5 separate regions of the Homo sapiens genome follow, and regions 2, 3, 4 and 5 are each linked to region 1. Evidence: promoter capture Hi-C in 16 types of primary human blood cells and fetal thymus (Javierre and others, 2016). All regions are on one chromosome and are shown on one strand. Each heading gives the region's core, a stretch centred on a gene start or on the middle of the fragment in contact. The rest is flanking DNA. Distances are from core to core; before and after follow the strand shown. Region 1 holds the start of C3orf49 (chromosome 3 open reading frame 49). Region 2 overlaps SYNPR (synaptoporin). Region 3 overlaps SYNPR (synaptoporin). Region 4 overlaps SYNPR (synaptoporin). Region 5 overlaps SYNPR (synaptoporin).

Region 1 (2,773 bases), core at 150-2,649:
GAATTAAGGCAGGAGTGCCAATAATTGCATGAAAAATATTGCCCTGTTGCTAAAGAAAATATTCATGTATTCATTTATTCAAGCACCTATTATTTATTGTGCTCTGAGGATGCCAACAGATGAGGAAAAACAGACCAGGGAGGAGCATATGTCCATTTGGCCAAGGCATATTAGATATGCTCTACTTCAGCGTTTCTCAAATAAGGGACAGAGGAACATCTGCACCCACTCTCCTAGAATATGGATTCCTGGGTCTCATTCCCTGCTGAAGCGGAATTTCTATTTCACTTGAATTTTGCCATAAAACTATGGCTTGGGCACTATGAGTTGTCCCACTTTAGGGATGAGAAAACAAGCATGGGTGGGTTAAAATGAATTGGCCAAGGTCACATAGCTAAGCTAGAAATGAGAACTCATGCATAATTCCCAAATCCACTCTCTTAGCCCCTTAACATTATACACTTCATTCTAGACCATTTTAAAGCTCTTTTCCCCAGTACTGAAACATACAAGACCCTCACTACTCCAAGTGCAGTCTGGCATCATCAGCGTCACCTGCGGGTTTGTTAGGAGTGCAAATTCTTGGATCCCAGCCCAGATGTACTGTATCGAAATCTGCATCTTAAAAAGACCTCCAGGAAGTTTGTGTGCACTTGAAAGCTTGAGAAGTATGCTCCAGATTATTGATTAATGCAAACACAGAAAGCAGAGTAATTCTTGTAACTCCCAGAACCTTTCTAGAGGAGTTTTTCTTGTTAAGCATCTAGTTATTTGACTGAACAACTCAAACCGCGAGAGGGTAACAGGAATAAATCCTAGTGTCTGCTGCCACCTTGTGGTGAGAAGTTCCATCACAGGCAGAATTCGCTCTTCACCACGAAATAAATGGGGCAATGTTGGAAGGGAGGGGTGGATCAGGTCCTCAATTTAGCAATGTACTTTGAGAGACCACTGCAAAATTCCAAGATGTAATGAAAACCACCCTTGGGGTACATTTTGAGATGTCCAAACAACAACTGGCCTTGTCATATGTGTCCCACAGGACACAGAGAACATTCACCAGCTGTAACTGAGAGATCTAACAGAAGCTCAACTTGTGTTAATCAGCGTATCGTTGGTATTCCTATAGGTCCCTACCACTTCAGAGTTCAAATACGCACTTCTGAATGTGGTGGTCAATTAGTGTGTGGGTGTTTTTTGTTGTTGTTGTTGTTGTTTGATTTTTTTTTTCTATCCAAATGCCAGCATTGAGGCAATCAGATCATCATTTCTGTATTTGCCTTGTTCAAGAATCTGTGAAGTGTTCCACAAAGGTCCATGGAATTTCACACAGCTCTGTCAAATACATCACTGGTGACCTCTGTGAAGTTGTAAACAGGGCCAGTCCCACAAATAATGTCTCTAACACCTGGAAGGGAATAAGGGAAAGACTCTAAAAATTTCCTACATATTTTATTCCGAATAGCCCACACCTTGACAGTACATTCAGTCACTGGATGATTTTGTATTGAAGTCTGTAAGTTCAAGAACTAAAACAATCCAAAACGGCTACTACAGGTGAAGTTGAGAGCAATGGCCCAACCTCAGCTGTATCTACCAGAACCCTTTAAGATTGCCTACAGAAAAGTTGGACAGTGCCGAAGATTCCAGCAACTCAAGAAGAAAAATGGCTCATTCAAAAGGAAGGGGATAGAAAGGTAACAGAGATTCATTTCCTTTTCTGTCAAATGAGAGTCTTTGGGTTTGGCATAGTGGCATGTCCTTTTAAGCATTGCATTTAGGAATGAGGACTCTGGATGGATTGGCGGGGAGGGTACTGCGTTGGATCAAGAAATCTAGTGTGACAATGTAAGCTTCATTTTATGATCAGAAACATCTTAATTGTAACAGGGAAAACCTTTCCTTTCCACTCGAAATTAAGTTTCAATGTGGCATAGGAGACTAAAATAAGTTCTGATCCTATGTTGATATTTCAGCATCAGAATTTTGGACATCTCACATCCCGTGAAAATACTATTATTTTGAAAAGTCATTAGTGCATTCTTCGAAATAGGTCCACGATCAGTGCTTTCTTTCTCCTATCCCAGCAATTTGGGCTGCTGAAATATGTACTAATCACATTTCACTATGGACACATTGTTTAATGTAACGTTAAAACTGCCTTAGACTTGCTATTTTTTTGCCAATGACAAAACCATATAGACAGGTATGAAACATCCAAAATATAATATATTTTAATTTGGAAAGTCAGTGTGGTGATTTATTTTCCAATTTCTTTGGGCTTCTCTCTTACCAGGTCCATGGGCTATAGTTCAGACATGTAGAAGTGAGGTGTTTTAATGAGTCCTGGAAGCATCAAAGACCAAGCTTGTGAACTTCCATGGACAAAATAAAATACTGCAGAGATTTCCACTTTCAATGAAAAGTAGGCACTCCGGGGGAAGCAATACAACCAAATAAATTCAGTACCAACACAAAAATATTTAAAAACTTAAGAAGGGGAGGGTTCTGCTCATATCAGAAATTGCAGCAGTGTGTTCCTAGGCTCTGGAGCTAAATCACCTTTGTTAATTATGTTCTAGATAGATTGGGGATGAGAGTGGGGAGGATGGGAATGGGAAACACCTTCTAGAGATTCTGAGACCACTTAGAACTGGGCTTTTAACATGGGTGGTCTTCAAAATTCCTGAATCTCCTGAAACTGTATTTGCATTGTTCTGTGTCACAGTATGTGTATGTGTGTACATGTTTATAGTAGTAGAATCACTTAAAA
Region 2 (2,940 bases), core at 47-2,546, 490 kb before region 1:
TAAGAATCAGACTTAGTAACTCATGGAAGTAATTGAAGGGTTGTGCTTGTACTCTTTCTAATTAAGTTTACATTGGGCAAATTTTAAGAAGTGTAATTTGGAAATGTTCTTAATTTCAATGGCCATCAGATTCATTTCCATGTTCCTAAATTTTACCAAAGCCAATAATAATACTTTCTCAATCCATTAAAAGACTACTTTCCTCATAGAAAAAAAAAAATGAACCACTGACACTTTACTTTTAGATTTCCTGTTTCATTTTGTTAGTGACTAGATATATATTAATTACTAACTATGTAAAAGTTGCAATCATTAGTGCAAATTGGGAGGGGAAATAGTTATTGGCAATGAAGGAAGTGTAAAGTAGAATGGAGATAAATATATACATTATAAAAGAAAATGTGATCCCACCAAAATAACCCAAATGAAAAGGACAATACCAAGTGACAGCAAGGATATAGAACAACTAGAACTTTTTTACACTGTTGGTAGGAGTGTAAATTGATATAACTTTGGATAACCTCAGCAGTACCTACTAAAGTGGGTATATGTATATGTTGAAATGAAATGTACATATATGTTATCATGTATATGTGGTACATGTAATACCTATTTATGTATTGTGTATGTGTGTTTATATCTAGCTATATGTATTATAAATGTATTATGTCCAAACAATTCCATTCTTAGGTATGTTTCCCAAAAGACACAAATAAGTGTGTTCATAACAGAATTTATAAAGCCACAAATGCTTATCAGTAGCATGATGAACAAATACATTTTGGTATATTTATGCATTTGACTTACAGTGATGAGAATGGACAAACTATGAGTTTACACAACATGAATGAATTTCACCCAAAAAAACTGAGCAAAAGAAACTAGATACAAAAGACAGTACAATATATAATTCAATTTGTGTTCAAAAATATTTTTAAAAAACACATTGTGGTATTAGAAGTTAGGACAGTAGCTAACTTTTGGTGGTTAGAGGTTAAGGAAGGGGCTTCTGGGGTTCCAATAATATATTATTTCTTGATCTAGGGATTGAGTAATAGGTGTGTTCACCCTCTGAAAATTCATTGAGCTGTTTTACACTTTTCTGCATGTATGTAATATATCAAGAAATTCACCTTAAAAAAGGCAATGTGTGAAAAGGATCAGGAGAGGCACAGATGGAAAAAGCAGGACAAAGTAAATATTGTTAGCAAATTAATTGGGCATAAATTGCAAAATATTATTTAAATGAGGAATGCCACATATGCTGAATTTAAAATACATTTTAGTGTCCCCATGATTAGGTTTTAACATGACTTTTAAGAAATTCTACAAATCTCACATCTACCACAAGACCAGTTATATAATTCAAGATGCTCAGTACTAAGCCATTAAAAAAAATTCAACACACTCTCAGAAAAACTGTGATATTCACAAAATGAGAGTGCCTTCTCAGGTTTCCCTTTATCCTCAGGTTGCAAAAGCTCAGAGCCTCATCTCCCTTTCTGGGAATGTCCAGAATCTTGTATTCAGGCTGCACATTTCCCCACAATTAGGTGACCTGTTTAGCATTGCTAGCCTGAGTCAGTCCATTTCATATCAAATGAGACTGGTCTATATTTAAAAGAAGGAATTCATAATGTACCAGTGTGATCTAGGAGTTTAATCACTGGGTTGAGTGCTCCAGGCCCCAGTTCCCCTAACATGCCTGTCTCCCTGGCTTTGACTCACAATCATGTGTTTTGTAAATGCACAAGGCAATGAACATAAAAGCAAAATTGCTGGTGACTAAGAATAGTAGCCAGCAGCCCTGGGAAGAATGCAGTGCTCTGGGGCTTAGCAGGAGAGCTGTGGATGCCTGGACACTGTGGACCTGAAAAATAAACATCCAATTGGAGAGTTGATGTGACCTCAGAGGAACCTGGGGGCCACAGCTCTGAATTCCCCAGAGCTGGTACTTGAATCTACTATGGCTAAATAAACTTGCCACATTTATTGGTGGCTTCTGTTTAAACACGAGTATTACAGTGGTGGCTTTATTTTCTTCTACCTTTTATTGATTATAATGTCCATGAGAGGTCAGGACCTGTTTTCTCAAATTGACCGCCACATCTCCAGCAGTTATTGAAAAAGCTGTACACTAGTCATCGCACAATATGTTTATTTGAATTATTTGAATACAATCTATAAGTCAAATCTAGCCTGAGAGTTATCTCAGCTATCACAGTTCTAAAAATAGGAGCAGTCTCCTAGTTCTTAGGTGGTATAAAAGTAATAACTATTATCAACGAGCCAAGAAAAACACACTTTCTCTCCACGTAAACAAATGAAAGAATTTGACTATTCAGCAAACTGCCTCTCAAGTGACAACATGGCATTGTTTAAATATTAAAAATAATATTTATGTTTAATACATTATTTTATTATGAGAGTTTATTATGTATCAGTCACAAAGCTGGTCACTTAACCTACATTATAGTTTAATTATCACAGCAATTTAATGGGGTAGCTACTCTTCTTAGCCCTATTTTACGGGTGGGAAAACTGAGACACAGAGAGGTAACTACCCCAAAGTGGCACAGCTGTTTAGTGGTTGAGCCAGGATTTGAACCCGGAATCTAAATCTAGTCCTTTAACCAACCTGCAATGCAAACCCTCACCCAAGACATCACAACACAGCAATTAAAATTGGAGAAAATGGAATGAGTTTGTTCCTAATCCAGTTAATTTCCCTGAATTAGAGAAAATCTCAAAATGTAATGTAATACATTTCTTGAGGAGAGGACTATGCTCTCTGATGACTAGTAATGTTGGCCATACGTCTTAAGACTATTTTTACACCTGCATCCTGAGGCAATTGAAAGAGTCCCCTTCAACTCACGAATGTGTCTCTGGGTAATAAATCATATGGCTACCCTATGAACACATTTGCCTTTTCCAGAA
Region 3 (2,921 bases), core at 293-2,792, 450 kb before region 1:
TGGTAATTGTATACTGTGGTGTTTAAAATGGACAAATACCACATGGCCTTTTGTCTATGATTTGTGGGCATAGCTGGAAATTTTTAGTCTGGGGGCATAATTTCTAGATGGATCTCTCAGCACTTTGTGGGTTACAAAATAATATCTTTTACTCTTCTGCAATTTTGAGGTTGTTTAGATATCCAGACCCGCTGGAGACAGTAAGGAGTAATTTTATATTTTATGCTATCAGGTTAAACTTTGAATTCATAGGTGAGAACCTTGTAAAAATTTAGAGTACTGAGTTAGAGAAAGACCCCTATATAAACACAGTGGATTCATAAACCCAGAAAATATCCTCTAATCCCTATTGTTGAATTAGAATTTAAATATGGGGGAGAGCCAAGATGGCTGACTAGAAGGAGCTAGCGTGCACTGCTCTCACGGACAGAAGAAACAGTGGTGAGTAAACCCTAGACCTTTAACTGGAACATTCAGGTGGACACATTGCGATTCATCAAGGAAACAACCCACGAATGAAAGAGAGGAATGAGACAAGACAACCACCCACCTGGGATGGCATAGAGCCAGAGGAGGCCCCCATACCTCGGAAAAATGATGAGTGAGTGACAGTCCCCAGGAACCCACACTTCTACCATGGACTTTTGCAACCCTGGGCTCAGGAGATCCCCCTGTGAGCCCACCCCACAGGGGCCTCCAGACTGACACCGAGAGCTCTGTGGAGTCTGGTAAGAGAAGTCACTCATGCACACATGGAGTCCTAGGAGCCTTGGATCCCCAGGCATCCTGGCATTAGCCACTGCAGCTCTGGCAGTGGGGGAGGTCAGGCTCCCTTGCACGTCTCCGGGAAAGAGGCAAATTTCATGAGGCTGAGCAGTGATGAACTTCAGGTTTCACCTTGCAGGATAAGGCCCACTGGCCTGGGACTCCAGCCACCTACTGCCTGGGCTTTCAGACCAGTAGCAGCTCTGACTTCCCTGGGACGGAGCTCCCAGAGGGAGATGCAAGCCACTATTTTTGCTGCCCTGCAGCCCTAATTGCTGCTGCCCTCAGGTTCTAGAAGGTGCGTGGTGATTTGAGACTGATACAGCTCCCCAGTGCAGCACAGCTGCCCCACAGAGAAGTGGCCAGACTCTTTTCCACCTGAGTCCTCGTTCCAACTTCTCCTCACTGAGTGGGACCCTGGACCTCGGACTCTAGCACAACCACTCTGGCCCCACCTCAACACTTTAGTCGGAGGCGGTTCTACATTTCACTGAGGAGGAAATCACAGAGACAACCCACAGCCCGTCTGCCACTGGAACTGCAGTAGTACCACCCTAACCACCCTCAGGATGGGGAAGGAACAAAGGACCTGGTTGCTATGCTGGCATTTCCCACACACAACAGCCACCATGCAGAGAGGAGCCCAGTCTCTCTTCCCTGCAAGCCCTCAATCCCCACTCTTCACCAGACTGAGCCCCCGGCTTGGGACCACAGAACAGCCATCCCATGCATGGCTGAGTATATCCACAGGTAGAGGCTCTATGTTTCCCTGGAAAAGGGATCTTAGAGTGACCAACAGCCCCTCTGCCACTGCCACGACAGTGGTTCTGCCACTGCTGCCCTCAGTCTGAGAAAAAACAAAAACACATAAAAACAAAGACTATGTCCAGCATGACACAGTCACCATAGACAAGAGTCCAGTCACTCCTCCCTGTGAGCCTTCCACCCCCTGCTTCTCACCAAGTGAAGGCCCCAGCTTGAGCCAGCAGCACAGCCACCCCATCCCTGGCTGAACATTTCCAGTAGCAATGGCTCTGTGTATCTCTGAGAGGGAGCTCCCAGAGGCAACTGAAAGCCCCTCTGCCACTGCCACTGCAGCGATACTGCCTTTGCTGCCCCTGGATTGGGGAAGTAGCAAAGACACTGGGTGCTTTAACCATGACTCCAGCAAGCTGCAGTTGTCCTAAGGAGAGAGGCCAGTCTGTTTCCCCCATCCCCCTTTCCCCCACAACCCTCACTGGTCACAAGGCACAGCTGCCCCTGGGTTGGGCCCACAGCACAGCAGTTCCACCCCAGGCTGATCACACTGATTAATAGCAGCTCTGAATCTCTCTGGGATAGAGCCCCATGAGATAGGTGAAAAGTCCTCTGCCACAACCACTGCCAAGATCCCTTCCCCTGCTGCCTCCAAGCTGGGGTGAAAACATAAAGCCTGAGCTCGCCCCAGGGCTGCAAAGTGCAGCCCAGAAGAGTCAAGTAAAGATCTGCAGCTAGCACTTGAGTGGGAGAGGAGCCCACACTCTCAGAGCACTGAGAAAGAGTACAGCTGCATTCATGAGGAAATATAGAGGAGCCATGTGGCTGAACAAGAGCCTACCAACTGGCCATTTAGCTTATCTACTGGATCACAGCCCAAACTTCAACACCAAAAATCCTTTGATAATGTACTCCCTTGTGAAACCAAGGGTGAGAACTCAGCTACAAACCCCCTGCAAAAACCCCCAGCCCTCTAAAAACATCCAGAAAAGAAGTCTACTGGCTACTCAAATTACACCATAGTTAAAGGAAATCATCCCACCATAGATGAGAAAGAATCAGTGCAATAACTCTGGCAGCTCAAAAAGCCAGAGTGTCTTCTAATCCCAAAAGACCACACTAGTTCCCCAGCAAGGGTACTTAGCCAGGCTGAAATGGCTGAAATGACAGAAATAGAATGCAGAATATGGATAGGAATAAAGATTATTGATATTCAGAAGAAAGTTAAAACTTAATTCAAGGAATCTAAGGATTACAATAAAATGATATAAAAGCTGATAGACAAAACAGCCATCATAAGAAAGAACCAAACTGATCTGATACAGCTGAAAAACACACCACAAAAATTTCATAATGCAATCACAAGTATTAACAGCAAAATACACCAAGCTGAGGAAACA
Region 4 (2,700 bases), core at 122-2,621, 420 kb before region 1:
ATGAACTATGGAATCAGGTTAATGACAGAAAAAAAAGACAGAGCTATTCTCTCATGAAGAGATGGCATATACCTGGTACTGTGCCTGTATTCTTGATGGACATCACTAGTTGATTGTACTTTTTTGCAGAGCATGAATGTGGCCTTGGGAATCCTTGTGGGAATCAAAATTGTGCTCCAAACAGCTGCTACCAATCTAATGAAGTGGTAGTGCAGGATGAACCCAATTTGTCATCCCTGGGCTCAGTATCTCTGAAAGTTGAGAAACATGAGGCCAGTAGGAGATAAAGAAAGCAATGTCTTCTGCCAGAGAGACACCTAGAGAACAAAGTCTTCTCCAGTTTGCTGATCCTAAGAGAGATGCATTTCTCTCTCAAGACAAATAGGCCCCTGCTGTTCATCCTTAATTTCATATACTCAAGCCTACATGCTCATAAATGAAGAGCAATGTTGCAGAGGAAGGAGGCCCTGCAGCCAGAAGGAGGAAGGAGAGGTTTGAAGAAGACACTTTCTAGATCAGCCATTATTGACATTTTGGGCTGGATAATTCTTCATTATGGGGCTGTTCTGTGCACTCTGGGATGTTTAGCAGCATCCCGGGCCTCTAAACATGAGGAGCGCTCCCTGCAAAGTGGTGACCATCAGAAATGTCTCCAGGCTTTGTCAGATGTCCCTGGGGCCTGGGGCTAAGGGTAGAACGGGGAGAGGCAGAATCTCCCCCAGTTGAGAACCACTGCTCTAAATGATAAAAATCAGAGGATAGAAATTCAATATGAATTCTAGTTCTTATCCCAAAAGCAAGTTAGTATTTTATAATCCAGGGTCTGTGATGACAAGAACCATAAAGGATTCTGGAAACACTGTCCTTTTGCTATTTCATCGGGATTGACCCCTCTGTATGACAAAAACTTAAGAGGAAAAAAGGCCAGCCTATTTGTGACAGTGGGCATAGCTAGGATGACTCCAAGATGAAGGAAGCAGTGGGAGTGTGCTTTGTGGCCATTCACTGAAGGAGAGGAAAAGAGGTGAATCCAGAGGCCTAATCCAGGCCCATCTTGCAAACCTTTGCTTTAGCTGTTCCCTCTGCCTGGAACTCTTTTCGTTTACTGCTATATCCCCAGTTCCTGGTACAGAGTGGCAGCTGGAGGAATATTTGTTGCACAAATAAATAAAGCATAGCGCACTTGACATAGTCATTGCAAGTGTGATGGTGATGCAAGTGTGGAAGTACCAGGTGCTGTGGGGGCACACAGGATGGAGAACTAAACTTTTCTGAAACATGAAGATTCTCTAGAGAAAATGTCCTGGAACACTAAGGAAGCCTTTCTAGAGATAACGATCTCAAATATGAGACCAAGGGGCTCTGGACAGGAGAAGAGACCATACAGTAAACATTAACAGAGAGAATGTTTATATATATTATTGTGTCAATAGTTTACTTCTTCCCGAGTAACATAATTATATATCCACATTCTGCCATTAATTCTGTAGTTCCTCCCACTAAAGCGTATTTTCTTGCATCTTGTCTTTGTATTCAACCATATAACATGCTCTGGCTGATTGAAAGAGGTAGAAGTAAAAGTGTTATCAGTTCCTAGTCTGGACTATGAGTTTGCCTAAATGAATTGCCTAAATATTGCATAAATGGATTTGAAAAGAACATTAAATAATAGAGTCCACGAAGCCTTGGTTGAGTGCTGTGTTACTGCATTACTGTGTTACTGCTTTTATATAAATATATATATATGTACATACATATATATACACACACACACACATTCTCATACGTATGTATACACATACACACACACACACACACACACACACACATAGAGAGAGAGGATGAGACAGAGGCATATTTAATCCTCACAATAACCCCACAAAGTGGGTACATTTATTGGATACCATCCTCATTTAACAGATGAGACAGCACAGGAACCCAGAAGCTAAGCTAATGTGCTCTAGGTCATACTTGCAGTATGGAGAGCTGAAACACGAAATTGGAGGTTCTAGCCTCAGGGCCTACACCCCTCAACCATCACAATAGTGAAAGAAGACAGAGGTGTAGCATAGTCAAAGCCACAGAGGTGAGAGAGAACATGATGGGGGAGCTGGAAGGAGACCAGGATGTAACCTAAGAGAGAACAAGGAAGAGGGTAGCAAATGATGAAGTAAGCCAGAGAGAAAGGAGCTGGATCAAGGGAAGCCTCATCAAAAAACTGTGCACTGAGAGGCTCTGGGAGCCATCCTTGATCGACCACAACACCTACCTTGGATGTAAACATCAGCATTCCTATCACATGTAGGGTGGATTTAATTTCATATGACTGGGTTCAATTTATCAGTTGATAATATTTAGAAAGGTGTTCATGTTAGCTGCCCTACCTCCAACCACCATTTACTAGAGAACAAAAACACTGAGCCCAGGTGTTAGGATCCTGATTTGTTTTATGTTTTTAAGAGAAGGCAACAGAGCATTCGTTTTTATCCTGGAATAGATGGTTTGTCCAGCTGTAGATGCTGTAGAAAGGAAGCTGAATGTTAATTAGATGTCAACAATAATTATGGTGATTACGTTTTTTGAATAGCTATTGGGAATAGCTGGATCCACATCTAGAATGTGATGTGAATGATGTTTTAACAGTTTTTAAAAGAAGAGAGCAGCCTGTTACTAAGGAAATTACAGTGAATAGAATTATAG
Region 5 (2,700 bases), core at 186-2,685, 510 kb before region 1:
TTTATTTTTTAACAACTCGATTGAGATATAATTGACATAATAAATTACTTAATTATCATTTCCAATCTTCTTCATTTCTATGTACAGATCCACATTTCATCTGAAATAATTTGCCTTCTGTTTGAGACTTTCTATAACATCTTTTGTAGTGTATGTCTGTTGGTGGTATATGTTTTCAGCCTTATTATGTCTGAAAAAGTCTATGTCATCTTTGTTTTCTAAAGAAATTTTTGTTGGGTATCAAGTTCTAGATTGCAAGGGGTTTTGCTTTAAGTATTTTAAAGATGTTGCTCCACTGTCTTGTTACTTGCACTACTTCTAACAAGAAATTTTCTGTAATTCTTATCTTTGTTCCTCTGTACATAATGTGTCTTTTCTCCCTGGGTGCATTTAAGATTTTCTTCTTCATCATATGCTTTGAACAATTTAACTATGATGTACTTTGGTATGGTTTTCTTCATGTTTATTGTGCCTGGAAATTCATTAGACTTCCTTGATCCATAGAATTATAGTTTTATAATTTTCATTGAATTATAAATTTTCATTAAATTATAAATTTTATAGTTTTCATCAAGTTTTGATCATTATTTTCCGAATTTCCTTTTTGCCCTCCCCTTCTATAGACTTCAGTTTCTCATAATTAGGCTTCTTGAATTGGTCCCACAGATCACTGATGCGCTGTTCATTTTTTAAATTCTTTATTCTATCTGTGTTTCATTTTGGATAGTTTCCTTTGCTATGTTTTCAAACTCACCAATCTTTTCTTCTACACTTCTAATCTGTTATTAATTCTACCAAATCTATTTTCAACTTCAGAAATTACAGTTTTTACCCCTAGAAGTTCAATTTGGGTTTTTGGTTGGTTGGTTGTTTTTATCTTCAAATGTCTCTACTCACATTCTTGAACATCTGTAATACACTTACAGCTGTTTTCATGTCCTTGTCTGCTAATGTTAACATCTATTTTGCTTCTGGATCAATTTCAATTGATTCTTCTCCTCATTGTGGGTTGTATTTTCCTGTGTGTTTGCATGTTTGCTCATCCTTGATTGGATGCCAGATACTTTGATTTTTACCTTGCTTGATTCTGGATGTTAAAAAATTTCTATGAATATTATTAAGCTTTATTCTGAGAATTAGTTAAATTATTTGGAAATTGTTCCATTTGTTCAGGTCTTACTTTTAATATTTGTTAAGTAGGATCAGAGAGGTGTTTAGTCTAGTGCTAATTACTCCCTGCTTCTGAGGCAAGACCCTTCTGGGTCTTCTACAAAATGCCTGTGAGTGACAGGTTTTCCATTCTGGCTGGTGACCCCAGCCCTGTGTGAGCATCAGATATTCCCCCATCTAATCTGTTGGGTGGTCCTCTCCTAGACACGGGCAGCCTTCTCACATGCATGTGCTGACCACTCCTATGCTGAATACTCAAGAAGCACCCTCTACACTGCTTACTCCAGAGTTCTCTCTGTGCTACACACTTTATCCTCATTTTTGTTCTATCCTGCAAACTACAGGGGTTCTAGTTTCCCAGACATGCATATGCATTGTGTGTATAACACAAATAAGTAAAGTGGCCATCTTCTGCCTGCTTTGTGGGTGTCTGAGACGGTATTTGCATGACAACAGACTGTATTTAAAGCCCTCTTCTGTGTACCCACTCTTCAGCCCTCAGGCTGAGTAAATATTTTCTCAAGCAGATACCCCATACCCAGCTCAGTTTAGGGAAGAGCTACCCCCTACCAAGCCCTGCAAGCTTCCTGCCTCCAACTCCCCACCCCAGAATCCCTCCCAACTGCCTCGTATACTCTTCTTTTTTCCATTGGTATAGTTGAGACAAAGTCATTCTCATCTCTCTCACCTTTGGTCTCCTTATTTGTTTTGTTTTCTTCTCAGAAGACAGCTTTGAGGAGGAAAGTAGACTCTTATTGTTTTTATGCAATTAAAAAAGTGAAGGATGCAAACCTCCCTACATATGAGGGAATTTATTGGCTTACATGATTGAGAAGTCCAAGGATATAACCGCCTTTAGGTTGGAAGTTCAAATCATAGTCATTAAAATTGACTGAGTTGAACCATATGTATTTAAAATTATTTGGCAATTTTGATCTTTAAAAATTGGAAATCTCATACTTTTAACCTCATCATTTTTTTCTCAGTCTTTCAGGTCTGCTTTCACCTGTGTAGCTTCCTATTTCATATAGATTCTTGCTGATGTTGTCAAGATGACTAGGGCAGCCTCAGCCTATGTCCTCTCAGATCCAAGGCCAGTGGGAAGAATATCTTTCCTTGCTCCAAGGCCTCAGAAAAATATTCATGCTGTCCCAGTGGCTCTGATGGCCTCTCATGTCCAACACAGAGCCAATCCTGAGGTTACTGTGGGGGCACTAGCTGGCTGAGACCTGGATATGAATTCCAGCCCTAGAACAAGGTGTGGAGCCCTATATGAACCACATGGCTTGAAAGTCAGGAGGGCTGGCTTCCCAGAAAGAAATCAGAAAGGAGACTCCTGGTGCATGCTCAGACCCTAAGAGTATCTTGCTTTGGATGCTTGGCTTAAAAACACTTATCCCAATGTGGTAGAGGGGATATTAATGAGCTGTTCCCTGTACTCTCAGTGTGTCCTGTTAACTTAAAACCACTCAGAAAACACATAGATGTCATTTATGTGGTATCCTTCCCACATTTTTCAAAAAATCAGAT

The links. The method cuts DNA at HindIII sites, captures the fragments that hold promoters and counts their contacts. A CHiCAGO score of 5 or more calls a contact.
Region 2: a fragment that was not itself captured here is called in contact with the fragment with the promoter of C3orf49 in region 1 in 4 of 17 cell types (monocytes, M0 macrophages, M1 macrophages and 1 more); the score reaches 10.3 in monocytes.
Region 3: a fragment that was not itself captured here is called in contact with the fragment with the promoter of C3orf49 in region 1 in 7 of 17 cell types (M0 macrophages, M1 macrophages, M2 macrophages and 4 more); the score reaches 14.8 in M0 macrophages.
Region 4: a contact is called between a fragment that was not itself captured here and the fragment with the promoter of C3orf49 in region 1, in 1 of 17 cell types (M1 macrophages). The highest score is 5.1, in M1 macrophages.
Region 5: a contact is called between a fragment that was not itself captured here and the fragment with the promoter of C3orf49 in region 1, in 1 of 17 cell types (M2 macrophages). The highest score is 5.1, in M2 macrophages.

The regions. Positions count from the first base shown.
Region 1 is chr3:63,817,900-63,820,672 of GRCh38, forward strand. It overlaps C3orf49 (chromosome 3 open reading frame 49), which reads left to right and starts at 1,400. Exons shown (of 7, transcript NM_001355236.2): 1 at 1,400-1,697. The coding sequence starts at 1,573. RefSeq lists a silencer at 747-866. The HindIII fragment of the contact is 1,193 bases long and covers 659-1,851 here.
Region 2 is chr3:63,326,794-63,329,733 of GRCh38, forward strand. The region is part of intron 2 of SYNPR (synaptoporin); the gene reads left to right. Among named protein-coding and RNA genes, the nearest start is that of SYNPR, 50 kb to the left of the region's middle. The HindIII fragment of the contact is 4,441 bases long and covers 1-2,940 here.
Region 3 is chr3:63,370,555-63,373,475 of GRCh38, forward strand. The region is part of intron 2 of SYNPR (synaptoporin); the gene reads left to right. Among named protein-coding and RNA genes, the nearest start is that of SYNPR, 94 kb to the left of the region's middle. The HindIII fragment of the contact is 3,770 bases long and covers 1-2,921 here.
Region 4 is chr3:63,401,642-63,404,341 of GRCh38, forward strand. The region is part of intron 2 of SYNPR (synaptoporin); the gene reads left to right. Among named protein-coding and RNA genes, the nearest start is that of SYNPR, 120 kb to the left of the region's middle. The HindIII fragment of the contact is 2,942 bases long and covers 1-2,700 here.
Region 5 is chr3:63,308,343-63,311,042 of GRCh38, forward strand. The region is part of intron 2 of SYNPR (synaptoporin); the gene reads left to right. Among named protein-coding and RNA genes, the nearest start is that of SYNPR, 31 kb to the left of the region's middle. The HindIII fragment of the contact is 631 bases long and covers 1,121-1,751 here.